Linked DNA regions of Homo sapiens: all the other regions are linked to region 1. Evidence: promoter capture Hi-C in 16 types of primary human blood cells and fetal thymus (Javierre and others, 2016). All regions are on one chromosome and are shown on one strand. Each heading gives the region's core, a stretch centred on a gene start or on the middle of the fragment in contact. The rest is flanking DNA. Distances are from core to core; before and after follow the strand shown. Region 1 holds the start of SPIRE1 (spire type actin nucleation factor 1). Region 2 overlaps SPIRE1 (spire type actin nucleation factor 1). Region 3 overlaps SPIRE1 (spire type actin nucleation factor 1). Region 4 overlaps LOC105371998 (a long non-coding RNA gene). Region 5 overlaps PRELID3A (PRELI domain containing 3A). Region 6 overlaps SPIRE1 (spire type actin nucleation factor 1).

What was found. Contacts are between HindIII fragments. The CHiCAGO score rates a contact against its expected background, and 5 or more counts as called.
Region 2: a fragment that was not itself captured here is called in contact with the fragment with the promoter of SPIRE1 in region 1 in 5 of 17 cell types (M1 macrophages, M0 macrophages, M2 macrophages and 2 more); the score reaches 21.1 in M1 macrophages.
Region 3: a contact is called between a fragment that was not itself captured here and the fragment with the promoter of SPIRE1 in region 1, in 4 of 17 cell types (M0 macrophages, M1 macrophages, M2 macrophages and 1 more). The highest score is 16.4, in M0 macrophages.
Region 4: a contact is called between a fragment that was not itself captured here and the fragment with the promoter of SPIRE1 in region 1, in 5 of 17 cell types (M0 macrophages, M1 macrophages, endothelial precursors and 2 more). The highest score is 12.5, in M0 macrophages.
Region 5: a contact is called between a fragment that was not itself captured here and the fragment with the promoter of SPIRE1 in region 1, in 11 of 17 cell types (M2 macrophages, M1 macrophages, megakaryocytes and 8 more). The highest score is 19.5, in M2 macrophages.
Region 6: a fragment that was not itself captured here is called in contact with the fragment with the promoter of SPIRE1 in region 1 in 3 of 17 cell types (M1 macrophages, M0 macrophages and M2 macrophages); the score reaches 11.4 in M1 macrophages.

The regions. Positions count from the first base shown.
Region 1 is chr18:12,656,115-12,659,458 of GRCh38, reverse strand. It overlaps SPIRE1 (spire type actin nucleation factor 1), which reads left to right and starts at 1,352. Exons shown (of 17, transcript NM_001128626.2): 1 at 1,352-1,929. The coding sequence starts at 1,593. It also overlaps a transcript of PSMG2 not described here. RefSeq lists silencers at 893-1,042, 1,093-1,162, 1,165-1,333, 1,203-1,622, 1,813-1,932. The HindIII fragment of the contact is 7,532 bases long and covers 1-3,344 here.
Region 2 is chr18:12,458,142-12,461,616 of GRCh38, reverse strand. The region is part of intron 12 of SPIRE1 (spire type actin nucleation factor 1); the gene reads left to right. Among named protein-coding and RNA genes, the nearest start is that of PRELID3A, 52 kb to the right of the region's middle. The HindIII fragment of the contact is 7,794 bases long and covers 1-3,475 here.
Region 3 is chr18:12,488,919-12,492,681 of GRCh38, reverse strand. All of the region lies in intron 8 of SPIRE1 (spire type actin nucleation factor 1), which reads left to right. Among named protein-coding and RNA genes, the nearest start is that of PRELID3A, 83 kb to the right of the region's middle. The HindIII fragment of the contact is 1,214 bases long and covers 1,831-3,044 here.
Region 4 is chr18:12,440,704-12,444,191 of GRCh38, reverse strand. It overlaps LOC105371998 (a long non-coding RNA gene), which reads right to left. Exons shown (of 6, transcript NR_136514.1): 5 at 617-799. Among named protein-coding and RNA genes, the nearest start is that of PRELID3A, 35 kb to the right of the region's middle. The HindIII fragment of the contact is 1,448 bases long and covers 1,122-2,569 here.
Region 5 is chr18:12,418,412-12,421,845 of GRCh38, reverse strand. PRELID3A (PRELI domain containing 3A) reads right to left here. Exons shown (of 7, transcript NM_001142405.2): 2 at 1,353-1,521; 3 at 217-306. Among named protein-coding and RNA genes, the nearest start is that of PRELID3A, 12 kb to the right of the region's middle. RefSeq lists a silencer at 1,213-1,362. The HindIII fragment of the contact is 6,008 bases long and covers 1-3,434 here.
Region 6 is chr18:12,507,114-12,510,925 of GRCh38, reverse strand. All of the region lies in intron 5 of SPIRE1 (spire type actin nucleation factor 1), which reads left to right. Among named protein-coding and RNA genes, the nearest start is that of PRELID3A, 100 kb to the right of the region's middle. The HindIII fragment of the contact is 5,609 bases long and covers 1-3,812 here.

The DNA.
Region 1 (3,344 bases), core at 103-2,602:
CTGACCTCAGTGATCTGCCCGCCTCAGCCTCCCAAAGTGCTGGGATTACAGGCCTAAGCCACTGCGCACGGCCCTCTTTCAATTTCTTAATTTTCCTTTTCGTCCTGTTGCTTTTCTCCCTCCTCCCCATTCCCAGCTGTATGTAAGATGGTATCTCATTTTAATAGACTGTTGTTATTTAAATAGACTGTTGTAGTTTCTACCGCAAGATGCAATTGTTGAGAGCGTGATTTCTAACATTTTACATAAAACTGCCGTAAAAGGTTTACTGGAACTTAATATACATTGCCTATTTGGTTGATGCTTTCAACACTCTGTAGGGCTTTCACACAGGACTAGCCTCAGTGGAATTTTATCGATTAAATTAATCTACCAATGGGTGATTAAGAATTATCTGTTTTATTGCATATTTAATAGGTTGGGGGGGCGGAATTCTTTCTTTCTACGGCTAATTGCCCTCAGTTCAATTTTACCACTGTGATATTCATTCCACATGCTCTGATGAGTGTGGTACTTGAGACATTACCTTAGTGAGGGAAGGGACCAATGTTACAAATGAATCCGGAAGGACGCTAAAACTAACACCTGCAAATTATGTACATGTTTATATTCCAGGCGCTGGTTTAGCTTTTGGGAGAAGTCAGTGAGGAAAACCCGTAAAGATCCCCGTCTTTACGGTGCTTACCCTGAAGATGGGAGTGGAGAGGGAGGTATTCAACCAGCAAGAAATCGGAAAACGCGCAGAGCGGCCGCGGGGTCACGGGAAACTGCCGGAGGCTTTCAGGGCCCAGGGCCCGGCGGGGAGGCTTCAGCGGGCCTGCATTTTCTTAGGCATCCGCTCCAGGCGGGTTCAAGTTTTCAACCAGACCTTCGGCGATCCAGCGCCTAGGGAACGTCAATGCGGGTGACTTCTCCCGCTGTGCAGGGCGGTGACCCGGGTTGGCGCGCCCAGTTCCCCGCCAGAGTCGGCCGGGGACTTCCCTGATAAATGCGACACCCTCTTGCCCCTGCGCCCCCCGACCGCGCGCCCGGCCCCGCGTGTCCCCCACGCCCCACAACCCTGCACGCCCTACCCGGCCGCGCATCCCCTCCGGACCGTGCGTCGCCGCCCTCACCATTGCGCCCCCAGCTGTGTGTCCCTTGCGACCGGGCCCCCCGACCGGGCGTCACCGCCTGCGACTCTGAGAGCCCTGCGGGCTAGAGACCGTGCGGCCATCTCGCCTCGAGGCGAGGCCCTCCTGCCTGGTCCTCACCTCCAGAGCGTGCATCCCCCGGCCCGTGCGGCCCCCTAAGGGGCGGGCGCTGGGCGGCGCTGGACGGCGCGAGGCGGGGCGGGGCGGGGCGGGGCGCCGGACGCCATCGCGTCGCTACCGGCCGGCGGCTGTCTGACCGGGACTGCAGCCGTGTCCTCGCCGCCCTCCTCTTGCCCACGCCTCCCGGGCACTCGCCTGGTCCCGGCGGCGGCGCGCGCGGCCGCGTTGGGCGGCGGCGGTTCCGGGGATGGTGAGGCGGCGGCGCGCGACGACGATGCTCCGGAGCTGAGGAGACGCCGGCACACGGCGCGACTGCCGAGCGCAGCGCCCACCCGCGGGATGGCTCAGGCGGCTGGCCCGGCGGGCGGCGGGGAGCCGCGGACTGAGGCAGTGGGCGGCGAGGGGCCGCGGGAGCCCGGGGCAGCCGGCGGCGCGGCCGGGGGCTCCCGGGACGCGCTGAGCCTGGAGGAGATCCTGCGGCTGTACAACCAGCCCATCAACGAGGAGCAGGCGTGGGCCGTGTGCTACCAGTGCTGCGGTTCCCTGCGCGCCGCCGCCCGCCGCCGCCAGCCCCGCCACCGTGTGCGCTCGGCCGCGCAGATCCGCGTCTGGAGGGACGGCGCCGTCACCCTGGCGCCCGCGGCCGACGACGCGGGAGAGCCGCCCCCAGTTGCGGGTGAGGCCGCCGGGCCCCTTTCCCTCGTAGTTCTTGGAACACCCGCGGCTGGGCCGCCTTACCCTCAGCGTCCCCGGCCCTTCCGCCCCCGCCGTCCCCCCCCATTTTGCCACGGGAGACCCCCGGGAGGATCCGGCGGGGACCCGCAGGGGAGGACGGCGTCAGGCCGTGGCTGGCCGGGGCCCCTCGGAGGTCAGAGCCTCGTGGCGGGCGACGGCGCAAATCCGCTGTGCGGAGGACGTTTGGGTGGGCCTGGGCCTGCGGGCCGCGGGGCGCTCGTCATTGTGCTGCCCGCGGGACAGCTGCCCGCGGCGCGTTTGGGAGCGGTGGGCTGGGCCCTGCTCCGGGCCAGCGGCCTGTGCGCCTCACGCCGTGGCTGCTGACACACGGCCGGGTTCACGGGGTGGGGAGGGCATCGCAGGCTTCACGCGGGGGCTCCGCACGGATCCTCAGTGCCGCTGTCGGAAACACCGCACTCCTCACGGGAAACTAGCAGTATTCCACATTAGACAGCCTTTCCTCGGTTCGGAAATGTAAAGATGATTCTGAACCGTGAGAATTCTGCTCTTTGGGGAGAAATGGAAAAATAGACTAAATAGTGATTTTTGGCTCCTGGACGTTAGAAAATACTGATTGCATTCCTGTATGTGAAAATTTGTTGTGATGAAAAACAGGCTTGTAAAGTGAAAAGTTGACAGGATGTCGGGATACAAAGAGAAAATGGGCCTTAGTTACGTCATTGTCTAATGTAAAATTTTCAGGATTATGACCTAAACAGTAATTTATAGCCAGGGTTTACTCAGATGCTCATTGAAGAGGAGGAGGAGGTTGAGAAAAGGTTTCTCCCATCAGTTTTTATCTAATTCATTCTTTTGAGAGGCAAGTCTATTAAAAACATAGAAAAACAATCTACCCTCACTTTTAGAAAGTTGATGGAAATGTCAAAATGCTTAAGGTGAAAGATGTAATTTCGAATTAGTAAAATGACATTTAATGAAAACCCTTGTCTAACTTGATTAAAACAATATTCAAGGTTATAGTTATTCTTTCAGTTCCACCAGAACGTTTTTATCTTTTATTTTTTAGTGTCAGGTAAACACATTTTTATTTACATGCTTTTATCTTTTATTTTTTAGCGTCAGGTAAACGATTTTTTATTTAAAGCCATCTTTTTAATTGTTCTTTTGAAACTATTTCAAATAGTATTTTTGTTTCTTTGATGGGCTTATTGCTTTTAAACTTGGACTTAATCTTAGTGGGAAATACTTGCAATTATAATTTATAGTGTATTAAATGGTACAAAAGATACATTTATAAAATACAGCAATGTCTGCCAGGTGCGGTGGCTCAAGCCTGTAATCCCAGCACTTTGGGATGCCGAGGCAGGTGGATCACCTGAGGTCAGGAGTTCGAGA
Region 2 (3,475 bases), core at 380-2,879, 200 kb after region 1:
GTGTGTGTATATGTGTGTGTATGTATGTATATACATATGTATGTACATACATATACACGCATGTATGTATATACATATGTACGTACATACCACACATATGTATGTACGTACATATGTACGTGCATACACACATATGTATGTACGTACATATGTACATACATACACACATGTATGTATATACATACATACACACACACACACATACATGTGTATAGGTAAGAGGGAACTTGTGGTTTTTTTCATAAGTCTAATCATTAGGGTATTCTCTTCTTCACTCAGCTTTTCCTAGAAGCCAGTCTATCATTCAGCTTGTAACTGGCCTTTATGTGATCATACAATGTCATTATTGAGGTTAGACTTAAAGTTTAAAATTAGCAATGTAAAGGAACTATCAGCTTAGCTACAAGGTAGTTTCAGCTTATAATAGAAGTTATGCTGAGACCTTCAGCTGACCCCAAGGGCCCATGACTGTGTCTGTTTCCTGTTAAAGCAGAGCTCTTAGTGTTGCGAGGTCAGGCCGTGCACTGTTTTTTTGTGGAGCAGGAAGGAGAGCAAGATAAACTAACTTGCAATCACTGAGGAAGGTCTCAGTGAGCAGGCAGTGGGAGAGCCGCTCTGCTCAGCACTGAACAGTGGTCAGATTGAGGGCAGGGAGCAGAGTCCACGCAGGCCTCCAAGCACCAGCAGAGACGAAATGATCTTCCTTGCTAATAGCTTATCTTGGGAAATCCATAAAATCATACCTTGTAGTAATGCCCTATAGCTTGGTAAGTATTGTTTTTATAAGTGTAATTAATTTTTAAATGTAGCTGCATTTTAGAAAACAAAGAATCATTTTGTATTTGTAACTCCTCAACTGAAAATGGCAGGAATGTTTTTATTGTTGATAATTTTTTTTTTTTTTGAGATGGAGTTCCGCTCTTGTTGCGCAGGCTGGAGTGCAATGGCTCAATCTCGATTCACCACAACCTCCGCCTCCCGGATTGAAGCGATTCTCCTGCCTCAGCCTCCCAAGTAGTTGGGATTATAGGCATGTGCCACCACACCCGGCTAATTTTGTATACTTAGGAGAGACGGGGTTTCTCCATGTTGGTCAGGCTGGTCTCGAACTCCTGACCTCAGGTGATCTGCCCGCCTCGGCCTCCCAAAGTGCTGAGATTACAGGCGTGAGCCACTGTGCCCGGCTGATAATTTTTATTTTTGTTGTATCTCCCTCCCTTTTCTTGTGATGTTTAAAATGTCATTTTTTTTCATCATTTGGTCAAATAACCGAGGGCAAATGCCCATCCAGTCTAAAGGCACCTCGTGTTGGCAGTACCTTCCTGGGGCAGGTGCAAGTGGCTGCCTGGCACATGTCCCCATGCTTTCTCAGGCACAGTAACGAGTTGCCTCTATCCTTCATCACAACAAGCCCCACTGAGGAAACTCAGAGTGTTTGCAGGACCCTAAATTAGAAAAATCCTTGCTGTGTGAACGCTGAGATTCTCCAGGAAGGACTTCGTGGTTTCATCACTGATTTATACGTGTGGATGCAGATGTTCGCACGGACTGTACCAGCCTCATGGTGTTTTTTGTTTTGTTTTCCTTTTGTGATCTGTAATCACTATGTGTAGGTCACTTGTGTTCAGCATTATTTTCTCCTTTTCTTTTCCCCCTGCCATTTTCTTTTTCCCTTATCTGTTGTTCAGGTTCCTAGGATAACCAGTGTATGGCCAAGGACGCCTTTTCGACCACTTTTTTCTACCATACAAACAGCTTCTCTGCTCAGCTCTCATCCTTTTGAAGCAGCCATGTTTGGGGTAGCAGGGGCTATGTATTATCTGTGTGAGAGAGCTTTTACCAGCAGGTGGAAATCCTCAAAGGTTGGCCTCTTTCTGCTGGGTCTGGGATTATTTCATTCTCTGTATCTCTGACGGTGACACCTCAACTGTTGCGTTCTCTGAGAATTAACCGCTTAGATAGCACTTTGCTTCCAATCATTGATTCCACCCTTGTGCAGGATGCACCGATCATGCCGTGGTCTCAGTTGAGGGAAATAACTGGGAAAGGACAACAAACTCAAAATGCAGCATCTGATGAAGGGGACCTGTGGGTGTTTGTCTCCTCGGGTGACCTAATTGTATAGCAGAGTCAGTGCTGCCACCTTTCTCCATGTGCAGCAGGCACTCTGAGCCCGTGGGGTGCATTCCTCCTAGGGCCTCCCCCCACCATCAGAAGAGTATTTGCTCACTCATTCCGTGAGCAGAGCATCCTCCTGCCAGGCCAGGTAGCCATGGTGGACTCCGCCCACCCACAGACACCTGCACAACCAGGGCATGGGCTCAGGAAACCTGTGTGCTCCCATCACCTGTCATGAAGCTGTGTTATGACAACCAGGGTGTGTACGTCACTTCTCTGCAAAGAGAAATTTCAAGTTTCCTTTTTAATGATGTGGCTATTTTAAATAATTCTGCATTATATTACTGTTTTTTGAGGTTTTTTTACACAGAATAATATATCATTATTTGAACCTTCACAATTCTACGTGAAATAAAAAGCTCTACGACCATATTGAAGCCTCTTCTGCCACCACGTAGCAGGTGCTCAGAGCAGCCTTTGTGCTACAGTAGGCAGGGCCTGGCTCTCTAAAGCCTTGGATTTACTAACCTTGTCCTTGACAGATGACCCCGCAGCTGGTTTCTTTGTTACTCTTTCTTAGTCATCTTGATATGGAAAGGAGACTCAATGTAAATAAGACACAAAACATTCCTTTCTCTGATCTTTGTCATGAAATGCAGGAAAAACCTCTGTCCTTTTTCCCGTTTTAGATGTGCTCTTGGGCAGCACGTGGTCAGGTGCCACGGTGGCTTTTTAACTCCTGTCACTCCTGCCTCTACTGAAGACCTGCTGGCATTTGATTATCAATTCTCCCCAAACAGAGATATCTGAACACTAAGGCCATATACCACTTTAGGCAAAGAAAGGATTCACTTTGAGTTTTGTTTGTTTGTTTTTGTTTTTTTTGAGATGGAGTCTCTCTCTGTCACTCAGGCTGGAGTGCAGTGACGCGATATCGGCTCACTGCAAGCTCCGCCTCCTGGGTTCACGCCATTCTCCTGCCTTAGCCTCCCGAGTAGCTGGGACTCCAGGCATCTGCCACCACGCCCGGCTAATTTTTTTTTGTATTTTTAGTAGAGACGGGGTTTCACCATGTTAGCCAGGATGGTCTCCATCTCCTGACCTCGTGATCCGCCCACCTCGGCCTCCCAAAGTGCTGGGATTACAGGCGTGAGCCACTGCGCCTGGCCTTCACTTTGAGTTTTGTAGTTGATTAAGAAGAGTAAACTTAATAGTTGCTGTTTTTATTTAAATTTGCCTCTCTTTGGTTTATTAAAAACTCAAAAAGCAATGGTTATTTTGGGTAATTTTCAAATACTGGTTAATTTATGAAGTTTTTACTAATCATGAACACTGTATAAAAGATGACTGTTCCCAG
Region 3 (3,763 bases), core at 1,188-3,687, 170 kb after region 1:
TAAGAATTAAATAGGATTATGGTAAAAAAATACTTTATAAATTGTATTGCATATACAAAGATAACGTATTATATTTTAAAAATATAGATGATAGATGTACAGTTTTACCTTATGTTTGTTTATTATGGGTTTAAAGATACCCGTAATATTATGTCATGAAAGCATGTTATTACCGGATATTACTTAACTTATTTCTAAACTTCCTTTACAGTTATTATTTTTTATTTTTTAGTGTATACTACAAGCACATATTGATTTTGATTTATAGGAAGGCCATATTATAAGATGTCTGTAAACATTTTTATTTATACGACTGTCTTTCAGTTTGTAAGACTAAAAATGCCCAAAGAATCCAGAGAAACTGCCTTTACGAAAACGGTCTATAGTGGTACCTTAACAGGAAAGGATCTGGTTTTGTGACCCCCACTCTGCTAGTTTTCTCCTCTGATCTCTTCTTCTGCCTTTTTCAGACTCTTGGACTTCAAAGTTTCTATCCTGGCTTCTGTTCTCCCTAAGCAACCATACCCTCTTCCATGGTTTTTGTTTCTGACTACCTTCCAGCTCACAGTCTACATTGCAGATCTGTAAAAATGCAGACTCATACGTCCAGCTGTCTGCTAGATAGAGCCTTATCATATCCTACAAGCAAGACAAACCCAATATTTCCACAAGTGAACTCATCCTGTCTCTCCCCAAACCATTGCATTTTGTTTTCCCAATGTAGAAACCTTAACATAATCTTTGACTCTTACCCGATGGCCAACCCCTGTTGATTTTACTTCCTCTGGATCTTTTTAATCTTCTACTCTTCTCAGCCCAGCAGCCACTATCCCAGCCGAGGCTGTCATCTGTCGCAGCAGCACTGATTGTCCTCCTGCTTCCAGTCTTGAATTCTTCCACCATTCCATATTGATTTTCCTTGTTTAATCCTGACCCTTCTGTTGTGTGACCTTCGTGATGACAGGGCCCATGTCTGTCTTGTTCGTTGTTGTGTCCCTAGTACAGCACTGGGCTGTACAGAGTACTCTCATGGGTTGAAATAATTAAATGTACTTTCTGGTGACAAAGCTTCAGAGTGGATCACTTGAGCCCAGGAGATCAAGGCTGTAGTGAGCTGTGATTGCACCACTCCACTCTAGCCTGGGTGAACCAAGATTCCATGGAAAGAAAGAAAGAAAAAAAAAAGATCAGTTGACTGTATATGTGTGGGTTCATTTCTGGACTCTTTGTTCTGTTCCACTGTTGTTTGCCAGTACCATGCTGTTTTTGTTATTGTAACTTTATAATATATTGTAAGATCAGAAAGTGTGATGTCTCTGGCTTTGTTATTCTTTCTCAAGATTGATTGGCTATTCATTGTCTTTTGTGGTTCCATAGGAATTTTAGGATTATCTTCTACTTCTGTAAAAAATACCATTAGGATTTTCTTGGGGATTCTATTGGATCTGTATATAGCTTTGGGTAGTATTCACATGTTAACAGTAAGTCTTTCAATTCATGAATATTATTCTTCCATTTGTTTCTGTCTCATAGTTTTTGTATATAAGTCTTTTACCTCCTTATTAAATTTACTCCTAGATATTTTATTCTTTTTGGTGCTGTTGTCAATGGGATTGTCTTTTTGTTGTTAGTGTATTGAAAAAAATTTTTATGGAGTTTTCTATCTGTAAGATCATGTCATCTGCAAACAGGGACACTTTTATTACTTTCTTTCCAATTGGATGCCTTTTATTTCTTTTTTTGCCTAACTGCTCTGGCTAGAACTACCAGTACTATGTTGAATATAGAAGTGGTCATCCTTGCCTTGTTCCTGATTTTGGAGGAAAAGCTTTCAGTTTTCCCTTATTGAGTATGATGTTAGCTGTCAGCTTTCCATATGTGGCCTTTATTATGTTGAGGTAATTTCCTTCTATTCCTAATTTGTTGAGTGTTTTTATTTTGAAAAGGTGTTGAATTTTGTCACATGCTTTCTCTGCATTTGAAATGATCATGTGATTTTTATTCTTTATTCTGTTACGGTGGTGTATCATGTTAATTGATTTTCATGTGTTAAGCTGTCCTTGCATCCCAGGGATGAATCCCACTTGGTCATGATGTATGATCCTTTTATTGTGCTGATGGATTCAGTTTGCTAGTATTTTGTTCAGAATTTTGAATCTATATTCATTAAGGATTTTAGCCTGTAATTTTGGGGGTTTTGGCCTCGTAAAACAAAATTAGAAGTGTTCTCTCATCTTCAGTGTTTTGAAAGAGCTTGAGAGGGATTGGCATTAATTCTTCTTTCAATATTTGGTAGAATTCACCAGTGAATCCATCTGGTCCTGAACCTGCCTTTGTTGGGGAGCTTTTTGATGAGTGATTCAATCTCTCATAGCAAGCCATATTCTTCAGTTTCACTTTTTAAAATTATATGTAGTTGCTAATGGGAACCCTACTTTAGAATAATTAAATAACATTTTTATGTTAAGTATGTCTTTATTTTAACCTTGACAATTGGTATTTCACAACCACCAGAATTGAGCTGTTACAGAAAGATATTGTTCTGTGAGAGTGTTACTTCTAGAATTCCGAGTTCAAATGGATATTAAACCCTAATTGTAAAGTAAGGGATTTTGGTCATTTTTTCTACAGAACTACATTGGTTCTTACTATACAGTTTTGCTTTGGGGAGTTCAGTTCTGATAATATTGGCAGAATTAACTTGAAGAAAAGTTTCCCTAAATATTTGTATCACTTTCCCCTACATGTAATTGCAAGTAGGAGCTCAATGCAGCAATGGCAAAAATGCCTGAATGTTTAAAGATGAAAATGTTACCCATAATAACAACAGCCGGAGGCATCCACTGTGAATTTACTTGTGCATTACAAAATGAGGATGAAAACTGTGTATATACAGTACTTTGTTATCTGCATCTAATGGTTTATTTGGCATGACCATCTTCCTATGTCATTAAATATGACTCCAAATACGATTTATAAGGATGTGATCTCCTAACAGATGGCTAAATTGGGTTTTATTTACCTATTTTCCTGATTCACAAGCTTTTTCTATTTTTTCCTAGTAAGTCTGAAATTACTATTCTTGTACATCAGTCTTTGTTCATGTCTCTGATCATTTGTTTTCTTCTAAACATCTTAATTGACATCCTCAATTTTTGTCCTCTTTTTGATATAGAGATTGGAAAATATATAAATGTCATCTCCCAAGAAATAATTGCATCCCCTTCTTAACACAGTAGTCAGCCTTATTTCAAAAGATATATTCAAGTGCTAGAGAAAAAAAGAGCAGAATAAAAAGATATTAGAGAAGATGGAAGAGTGCTGTGATAATATGTAATACTTTATTTGCTATACATAATTAGGACAATCTAGAGTAGGTAATATAGGAGTTTAGAAGTACGGTTTTTTGAATGGTGAGTGGAAGATGTTTTTTTTCTTTACTTTTTAGAAAACTTTTCCGAGATAAGTTCAAGGAAGATTATTCTTTCTTTTTTGAGACGGAGTCTCGCACTGTCTCCCAGGCTGGAGTGCAGTGGTGCGATCTTGGCTCATTGCAAGCTCCGCCTCCTAGGTTGACACCATTCTCCTGCCTCAGCCTCCCGAGTAGCTGGGACTACAGGAGCCCGCCACCAAGCCCGGCTAATTTTTTGTATTTTTTTTAGTAGAGACGGGGTTTCACCATGTTAGCCAGGATGGTCTCAATCTCCTGACCTCATGATCCACCCGTCTCGGCCTCCGAAAGTGCTGGGATTACAGGCGTGAG
Region 4 (3,488 bases), core at 596-3,095, 220 kb after region 1:
GTTTACTGAACGTTTTAAGCCTACTGTTGAGACCTACTGCTCGGAAAAAAAGATTTCTTTCAAAATATTACTGCTCATTGACAATGCACCTGGTCACCCAAGAGGTCTGATGGAGTTGTACAAGGAGACTGTTGTTGTTTTCATGCCTGCTAACACAACATCCATTCTGTAGCCCATGGATCAAGGAGTAAGTTTTACTTTTACTTAAGAAATACACTTCATAAGGCTTTAGCTGTCACAGGCAGTGGTTCCTCTGATGGATCTGGGCAAAGCACATTGAAAACCCTCAGGAAAGGATTCACCATTCTAGATGCCATTAAAAACATTGGTGATTCATGGAAGGAGGTCAAAATGCAACATGAACAGGAGTTTGGAAGAAGTTCATTCCAAGACTTCAGTAGAGGAAGTAACTGCAGATGGGGTGGAACTAGCAAGTGAACTAGAATTAGACATGGAGCCTGAGGATGTGACTGAATTACTGCAGTCTCATGAGAAAACGTAAATTGCTGAGGCATTGGTTCTTGTGAATGAGCAATGTGGTTTTTTAAGAGGAAATCTACCAGCGAAGATGCTGTGAACATTGTTGAAGTGATCAAAGATTTACAGTAGTGCATACTTAGTTGATAAAGCAGCGGCAGGGTTTGAGAAGATTGACTCAGATTTTGAAAGTAATTCTACTGTGGGTAACATGCTGTCAAACACCACTGCATGGTACAGAGAAATTTTTCATGAAAGGAAAATGCAGTTGATGCAGCAAACTTCATTGTTTTGTAGAACGTGTCCCTCAGCAGACGTATTCCTGAAATACGAGCAGAGGAAAGTTCTTGTGTTTTTATCTTAACTAAGAATGCATGGTTTACCTTCTAAATATCTTACACATTATATAAAGTTGAGTTTTATATTAATCCATTTACATAACCTGTTCCCTCAGTTGCCAGACATTTCTTAGGAGCCCCTTCCTCTGAAGTTCCTCTGTGATATGTGTATGTCAAGATACTTGTGTGTATGTGTCCAACTCATAATCCACATGTCCAGTGACTAAGTCCAAGTCATAATCTTTGACTCGTGCTTCCTGTATTGCAGATATACAAAGAATTTGGATACCATAAGTAGGAAAAGCTTTGGGTAACACATATTTAACTTTTTTCTTACCAGCTCCAGTTGAGGAAAAGATGTACAGTTGTAAATCACAGTCTACAATTTCATAAAGAAAACTATCTTTAGGAAAGGGCTTGATTGCACACACGAGTTATTTAAAGACTCCTTGGCCAGGCATGGTGGCTCATGCTTGTAATCCCAACATTTTGGAGGCCAAGGCGAGTGGATCAGGAGTTCGAGACCAGCCTGCCCAACATGGTGAAACCCTGTCTCTACTAAAAATACAAAAAATTAGCCTGGCGTGGGGGTGGGTGCCAGTAATCCCAGTTACTCAGGAGACTGAGGCAGGAGAATCGCTTGAACCCGGGAGGCGGAAGTTGCAGTGAGCTGAGATTATGCCACTGCACTCCAGCCTGAGCAACAAGAGAGAAACCCAGTCTCAAATAAATAAAGACTCCTGATATCGCTGCAGAATGTGCAAGTGCTCGCACCAGGCACATGCACACACACATTGATTATAATGCTAATAAAAGGCGTGGTGCTTCCCTCCTATTAGCCAAAGGCATGCGAAACCTCTCCCTTTGCCCACCCAAAAAAGTTTTAAGAGCTAAGACCTTAATATAAAGCTCTAGGCCGGGCACAGTGGCTCATGCCTGTAATCCCAACACTTTGGGAGGCCGAGGTGAGAGGACTGCTTAAATCCAAGAGTTGAAGACCAGACTGGGCAACATGGCGAGACCCCCATCTCAAAAAAAAAAAAAGAAAAGGCCTCTGCCTACACGAATCAAATGTTCAGATGCAGGCCGGGCGCAGTGCCTCACGCCTGTAATCCCAGCACTCTGGAAGACTGAGGTGGGTAGATCACTTGAGGTCAGGAGTTCAAGACCAACCTGGCCAACATGAGGAAACCCCGTCTCTACTAAAAATACAAAAATTAGCTGGGCATGGTGGCGCGCACCTGTAGTCCGAGCTACTCAGAAAGCTAAGGCAGGAGAATCGCTTGAACCTGGGAGGCGGAGGTTGCTGTGAGCCGAGATTGCGCCACTGTACTCCAGCCTGGGTGGAAAAAAAAGTTCAGATGCAGTTACCTGGAAGACTGAATTTTCACCACTATTCCAGCTCATCTTGTTAACATACACATGGTGTCTAGTATGTTAGCCATTGCCGTGCAGGGCACTGCAGCTGTGCTCCCGATACTGGTGGCTGCCTCGGAGCCCGTTTGATGGAAGCAGTGACAGCAAGCGCTCCAGAACTGACAGGACAGCGCTCCGGAAATGTGGGGCATCTGGAAGTTTATGTCCTCAGGGCTTGAGAGCTGAAGAAGCATCTGCATGTTTGACACAGCTTAGTATTCAGATTTCTTTTGGCACCAAGAGGGCCAGACACTGTGGGTCCCGTGCTGGGAATGGTCACAGCTGCTGCAATGAGGCAGGTTGTCTGTGAATCGAGGGCATGCGGCTCACTTGAAGCTTGCCCGTCTTGTATACATTCTTCTTTGCTTTGGGGCTGCCTTCTGACTGCAGCAATCGTCTATCTGTTGTCCCTGATCTGCCTCCATCCCTAACCCCCTTCCCTAGGGTGACAGCAGAAAGCTTCACATCCCAATTCCTCCCAGCAGCAAGAGTTTTTAGGAGAGTAGAAAGCCAAAGATGAGGATTTCTGCAGCTCTAACCTGAACCTCAGGCTCGTGAGCAGACATTGTGTGGAGCCTCTAGGGAATAGCGTGGCCGAGGAGGGAGCGAGCCCACGTCTGCACAGGAGAGCCTAACGAGCAATGCAGCTTCTACAGAAAAGTCACTCCTTTTTTTTTTTTTTTTTTTTTTTTTGAGATGGAGTTTCGCTTTTGTTGCCCAGGCTGGAGTGCAATGGCGCGATCTCGGCTCACTGCAACTTCCGCCTCCCCACGCTCCCCACCCCCCTCCCTCCAGTTCAAGTGATTCTCCTGCCTCAGCCTCCCGAGTAGTTGGGGACTACAGGCGCCTGCCACCACGCCCGGCTAATTTTGTATAAAGACACGGGGTTTCTCCATGTTGGTCAGGCTGGTCTCAAACTCCTGACCTCAGGTGATCCGCCCACCTCAGCCTCCCAAAGTGCTGGGATTACAGGCGTGAGCCACCATGCCCACCCAGTCACTTCTTTTTCTAAGAGAGAGGGTCTCACTCTCAGCCAGGCTGGAGTGCAGTGGTTCAGTGGTGCAAAGCTGCTCACTGAAGTCTTGAGCTCCTGGGCTCAAGCGATCCTCCCTCATCAGCCTCCTAAGTAGCTGGGACTACAGGTGCATGCCACCATGCCTGGCTAACTTTAAAAAAAAAAAAATGTAGCGACAGGGGTCTCCCTATATTGCCCAGGCTGGTCTGGAACTCCTGAGCTCGAGCGATCTGCCCACTTCG
Region 5 (3,434 bases), core at 36-2,535, 240 kb after region 1:
GAGGTGCGTTCTTTGTGACAATTCATCATTATGTGCATTTTTCTATATACTTATTATACTTGAATAAAAAGATAAACTGCTAAATGAATTCAGCCTTTCTGTTAAAAATAAGCAACACCTAGACCAAAGGTGGGCTGGAAATAGAATTAAACGAAGGCCTTACGCACCACCACCCAGACACACTGAGCCCGTTTCTCATCTGAGGCCATTGCTTACATTGGTAGAACAAAGTTCCATTTTCTTTTCCACTGGATCCACCACAGAATGTTCTCGGATGTATGTCAATGTCCTACTGGTTCCCAAAATCTAGAAAACAAAGCAAAACTAGCATAGTGGAACGTTAAAAATTCTACTTCATATCACCACCGAATACCATTGCATTTACTAATTAGTTCACTATTCAAGAAATGATATCATGGGATGCAGCAAGGGACAGAGACAAAACCCCTGTGTCCAGGGCGCTTCCGCTCCAGCAGGTGAGCCACTGAGCAAAGAAATGAATTCCAACAGAGTGGAGCGTGCAGCAGCACTATGCTCCCGGCAAAATAAAACAGGCTGCGGGCAGTGGAGCTAGGAGGCCCCTCTGCCGGGCGGAGTCTGGGCAGAGCCCCAAAGAGGAAGGTACCACCATAGTGCTGGGGTGGGGGTGTCAGGCTGGGGGCAGCAGGTGCAGGCCCCTGCAGCAGGAGCTGGGCTGACTGAGAGGCCTGCGCCAGGCCAGGGTGTGGACTGCAGGTGGAGGCGAGATCCAGGGGCCGGGTTGGGGTGAGCCGTGCTCAGATTTGCATTTCCAGCGACCTCCCTGGCTCTGAGGAAGAGGCCACGGGGGGCTGAACCATGGTGAAGCCTAATCCCGGTGCCCTAGGATGCGGCTGGCTGCGGACGCTGGGCTTTAGAGGCGGTTAAACCAGGAGGAGGGGCGCCTGGCAGTGCTAATCCAGCAGGCCCGGGCCCTTTGGGAGGACAGATGGGGATGCCAGACGCCACGCGCCAGGCAGAGCCTCCCGCGACCCCCGATCTCGAGGAAGACCCCCCCACCGTCCCCCCACCCCGTGACCCCCGATCTCGAGGAAGATCCCCCCCCACCGACCCCCCACCCCACGCCCCCCGATCTCGAGGAAAACCCTCCCACCAGCCCCCCAGCCCGTGCCCCCTGATCTCGGGGAAGTTCCCCCCACCGCCACCCCCACCCCGCGCCCCCTGATCTCAGGAAAGGCCCCCCGCCGCCCTCCCACCCCGATGGCAGCCAAAGCAGCAGAGGCACTGATGAGGGGAGGAGGGACGCGGGAGAGGGCGGGGGCGGGAGTGGGGGAGTCGGGCGCGTTCGGAGCCGCAGCCCCCGCCCCGCTCACCGCTCTCACGAGGCTGGGCAGCCCCCACTCGGTGCTGAGCAGGCGCAAGCTGTGCAGGCGGCCGCGGCCGTCCACGCGGCGCTGTAGCACATCCACGCCCAGCACGCTCGGGTTCATCGGGTTCGGGTACTTGCGCATGGCCGCCTGGATGACCGTGTCCCACGGGTGGCTGCGGGGAGAGCATAGGCGGCGGTGAGCAAGCGCCGGGGCCGGGGCCGCAAGGGTGAAGGGGAGGAAAAGCCGCCGCCAGGCCTGGGCAACGCGCTAGTCTCTTCACTTTAATGAAAGGCTGGTCCGACAAATCTGAGGAGTCCCGCGAGCCCTCCCCGGCCGCCGGCTCAGCACCTGCACGCCTCGGCACCTGGCAGCCCCTTGGTTTTTGTTTGTCTGAGACAGGGTCTCACTCTGTCGCCCAGCAGGCAGGAATGCAGTGGTGCCATCAGGGTCACTGCAGACTCAAACCTCCCAGGCTCAAGTGAACATCCTGCCTCAGCCTCCTCTTGCCCCACCTCCAGTAGCTGGGACTACAGGCGTGTGCCACCAAACCTGAATGACTTTTTTGTTTGAGACGGAGTCTTGCTCTGTCACCCAGGCCGGAGTGCAGTGGCGCGATCTCAGCTCACTGCAAGCTCCGCCTCCCGGGTTCCCGCCATTCTCCTGCCCCAGCCTCCGGAGCAGCTGGGGCTACAGGCGCCCCCCACCATGCCTGGCTAATTGTTTTCTATTTTTTAGTAGAGAGGGGGTTTCACCGTGCTCTCGATCTCCTGACCTCGTGATCTGCCCGCCTCGGCCTCCCAAAGTGCTGAGATTACAGGCGTGAGCCACCACGCCCGGCCTAACTTTTTAAATTAATTAATTTTTTTTTGAGATGGGGTCTCACTCTATCACCCAGGCTGGAGTGCCGTGGCACGATCTCAGCTCACTGCAACCTCCGCCTCCCGGGTTCAAGTGATTCTTCTGCCTCAGCCTCTCTAGTAGCTGGGATTACAGGCACCCACCACCACACCTGGCTAATTTTTGTATTTTTAGTAGAGATGGGATTTCCCCATGTTGGCCAGGCTGGTCTGGAACTCCTGACCTCAAGTGATCCGCCTGCCTCAGCCTCCCAAAGTGCTGGGATTACAGGCATAAGCCACCACGCCTGGCCAACTTTTTTTTTTTTTTTTTTGATATGGAGTCTCGCTCTGTCACCCAGGCTGGAGTGCAATGGCTCTGTCTCGGCTCACTGCAACCTCCACCACCCGGGTACAAGCGATTTTCCTGCCTCAGCCTCCCTAGTAGCTGGGACTACAGGTGCCCGCCACCACACCCAGCTAATTTTTTTTTGTATCTTTAGTAGAGACGGGATTTCACCATGTTGGCCAGGCTTGTCTCAAACTGCTGACCTCGTGATCCGCCTGCCTCAGCGTCCCAAAGTGCTAGGATTACAGGCGTGAGCCACCGTGCCCAGCCCAACTTTTTATTTTAACAATTTTTTTAGGTCTCATTATGTTGCCAGGTTGATGTCGAACTCATGGCCTCAAGCAATCCTCCTGCCTTGGCCTCCCAAAGTGCTGGAATTATGGGCATGAGCCACCGCACTCAGCCTCCCCTTGTTTTATTTCCTGCCATCAGAGTGGTTGCAAGTCACCCATTGCTTTCCAGAGCTCTGCACTTGTTTAGGCCTGAAACCTGCAGGGTCAGACACACGTCTGAAGGGAGCCAAGTGAGGGGCCACCACACCTGTCCAGCATGGACCTTCCCCCGGACTGCTAAGGGGTTGCTAGCAAGTCACTTTATTGCCCTAATTGTCCTAATCCACCCTTCCTTCAAGGTGTGCTCTCTCCCAGGAAGCCTCTGAGCCTCCTGCAAGGACAAACATTCTCTGACAAGATCATCATTTCTTCAGAAGTGCCCAGAGAGGTTTGTCCAGCATATGTATAGACACAGCCCAGAGGCAAGCCCAGATGTGTGCACACACCTATGCACCATCACATTCACATGTGTGCACATATGCATGCAGACACACATACATGCACATGCACACACATCTTGAAAAATTAAACTGGGATTACACTCAATATATGGGTTTACCATCCATTT
Region 6 (3,812 bases), core at 853-3,352, 150 kb after region 1:
TCATATAAAACTTAGAGTTGGTAGGCATGACAGTCTTGGGTACAGACAGTGAATGTTGTGGAGTGTGTTAGATTGTGGAAGTCCAAGGACAGGTGTGGTGGCTCACACCTGTAATCCCAGCACTTTGGGAGGCTGAGGTGGGCGGATCACCTGAAGTCAGGAGTTCGAGACCAGCCTGGCCAACATGGCCAGCTATCCCACTAAAAAATACAAAAATTAGCCAGGTGTGGTGGTGCACACCTGTAATCCCACCTACTTGGGAGGCTGAGGCAGGAGAATAGCTTGAACCTGGGAGGTGGAGGTTGGGGTGAGCCGAGATCGCACCATTGCACTCCAGCCTGGGCGACAGAGGGAGACTCTGTCTCAAAAAAAAAAAAAGAAGATTGTTGAAGTCCAGGTATTGGGGGAAGGCACATTTTAGGATTCTGACTTTTTAGGTTAAGAATGCTAGATAAATCATGCCATTATCATATGAATGGGTTGCTTTTGACCATATTAGGTTTTAATTGTCACATTATTTTCTAACTTTTATTGAGATATAATAGATATACAATAAGCTGCACATATTTAAAATGCATAACTTGATAAATTTTGACATATATTTTGTACATATATATATTCAGCCATGAAACCATCACCACAATCAAAATAATGAACCTATTTATCACACCCAAAGTTTCCTCATACCTTTTTATGATCCTACCTCCTGCCTCCCTCCTCCCCAGTTTCTAGGCAATTAGTCATCTGCTTTCTGTGACTATAGACTAGTTTGCACTTTCTAGAATTTTATATAAATGTAATCATATGGTATATACTGTTTTTTTAGTTTTTTTTTTTTTTTTAGATGGAGTCTTGCTCTGTCGCCCAGGCTGGAGTACAGTGGCGTGATCTCGGCTCACTGCAACCTCCGCCTCCTGGGTTCAAGCAATTCTCCTGCCTCAGCCTCCTGAGTAGCTGGGATTACAGGTGCGCACCACCACACCCAGCTAATTTTTGTATTTTTAGTAGAGACAGGGTTTCACCATGTTGGTCAGGCTGATCTCGTACTCCTGACCTACCTGGTGATCCGCCCGCCTTGGCCTCCCAAAGTGCTGGGATTACAGGTATGAGCCTCCGCACCCAGCTGGTATGTACTGTTTTTGGTTTGGCTTCTTTCACTCTTCATAATTGTTTTGAGATTTCATCCATGTTGCTGTCTGTATCTGTAGAGTATTGAGAAGTATTCCATTGTGTGAATATATCGCAGTTTATCTCTTCATCTGTTGCTGGTCATTTGGGTTGTTTCTTGTTTGCAATATTCTTAATTTATTGATAGATATCTTCAAGATATTTGTAACATTCAAGACAAAACAAAAATACTTGCCTACATTGTCTTAAAAGCTGGTATTATTTGTCATTTTAGAATAAAATTGATTATTGATTTTCCTTTATGAAGAATACTTGGATAGTGTTGTTCTAAGTGTATATCATCTTGGCCAATAAATTTTAAATTGGTTTTCCCAGCCACTGAAACCAGATAAATAACTTCCAGTGTTCAGAAGTTAGCAAACAGCTAGTATAAACTTAAAGTAAAAATTTAATTTCTTACTATAAGCCACCTTCATTTGAAAACTAGTGTCATCCCTGACAAGAGAAGCACTAACTCCAGAGGGAGTTATATTTGCGTAGATCACCAGCTTCCTCCTCATAAGACCACTAAGTGAATTACCCAGAAAGATTAGAATGAAAAGAGCAAAGAGTTAAGAGAGAATTAGAATGTCTTTACTAGCAGATTCTAGTTTCAGAATTTCCCTAATGGGATAAGGGATAAATTATAATCTCCAGGAATGCATATGATGACAGTTGTCTGTTATTTTATATAATAACTGTGACTTTAATTTCTGAAAAGTAGTATGTAAAATTTTTTAACCAAACAATCATGCACACAAAACCGACTATGTAACAAAGTGTGGGCCAGGCACAGGGCCTCACGCCTGTAATCTCAGCACTTTGGGAGGCCAAGGCGGCTGAATCACTTGAGGTCAGGAGTTCAAGACCAGCCTGGCCAACATGACGAAACCTGTGTCTACTGAAAATACAAAAAATTAGCTTGGCATAGTGGCGGGCACCTGTAATCCCAGCTACTCAGGAGGCTGAGGCAGGAGAATCACTTGAACCCGGGAGGCAGAAATTGCAGTGAGCCAAGATTGCACCATTGCACTCCAACATGGGGCGACAAGAGCAAGACTCCGTCTCAAAAAAAAAAAAAAACCAAGTGTGTTTGAATCCTTTTATAAATTATAGCAAAAGTTTCTAATGTGGGTAACTGTCTCCTGTCTCCTAATTTAAAGCCCAAAGGGAGACTTTTAAAAGATGAGATGATATTTGAACTGCATCTTAAAGGAATGAATAAGAGAAATGTGGAAGTTGGGACAAAAGCATTCCTGAGAGAAATATGGATATTTTAGGGGTATTATTTTAGAACATCTTTAATGGCAGAATCTAAGAATCTTTTTAAATATGAATATTTTAGGAGGCATCTAATGGTACACCATAAGTACCTCAAATCCTTTTTGGAACAAGAGGATGGGAAATGGTATGGTTTTTATATTTTTTGGTAGCTTCTTATTGTCCAAACCCAACATTTTTTTAAAATTATGAATCGTTATTGAGGATGTTTTGAGAAATTTAATCAGTTATTTTACATAGAAGATTCTTATGAAATATATCACTTGATTTTACAGCAAATATATTTAAGTAACTATTGTGTCACTTTATTTTTTTTTTATTTTTTATTTTTTTGAGATGGAATCTCACTCTGTCGTCAGGCTGGAGTGCAGTGGCACTATCTCGGCTCACTGCAACCTCCGCCTCCCAGGTTCAAGCGATTCTCCTGCCTCAGCCTCCTGAGTAGCTGGGACTACAGGCACGTGCCACCACACCCGGCTAATTTTTTGTATTTTTAGTAGAGACGGGGTTTCACCATGTTAGCCAGGATGGTCTCGATCTTCTGACCTCATGGTCTGTCCACATCAGCCTCCCAGAGTGCTGGGATTACAGGCATGAGCCACTGCGCTCAGCCATGTCACTTGTTAATTTTAACAAGTTACAGGTTTTTAGCTAAATATTGTGATGGACTTCACTCAAGTAGAGACTTTGACACATTATAGGCAGGAGAACAAAAGAGTTAAAGTATAATACAAATATAAATAGATTTTGTATTATTTTATGTTTTTTTTTTATTTTTTGAGACAGAGTCTCACTGTGTCGCCCAAGCTGGAGTACAGTGGTGCGATCTGGGCTCACTGCAACCTCTACCTCCCGGGTTCAAGCAATCCTCCTACCTCAGCCTCCTGAGTGGCTGCAATTACAGGCGCACACCACCACACCCAGCTAATTTTTGAATTTTTAGTAGAGACAGGGTTTCACCATGTTGGTCAGGCTGGTCTCGAACTCCTGACCTCAGGTGATCCACCCTTCTTGGCCTCCAAAAGTGCTGGGATTACAGGTGTGACCCATTGCACCCAGCCTTTTTTAGTATTTTCTATGTATAGAACACCATCTACTGATTCTGATCTTCTCAACAAGTGATAAAGTACCACTTTCTTTATTGATGAGGAAACTACAGCTCAGAAAGGTGCAGCAACTTGCTCCGTGTCAAATAGCTGGCAAGTGGCCTTATCTCAGTCAGCTGTGGTCACAGTAATACCGTGTAACTAACCACTACAAAATCACAGCCGCATAAAGCAAAAGCACTTACTAACTCATGGGTCTCCAGATCCCCTGTGGTAGCTCCACTTTACAGGTATCTCATCTTTATCCCGGGACCACAG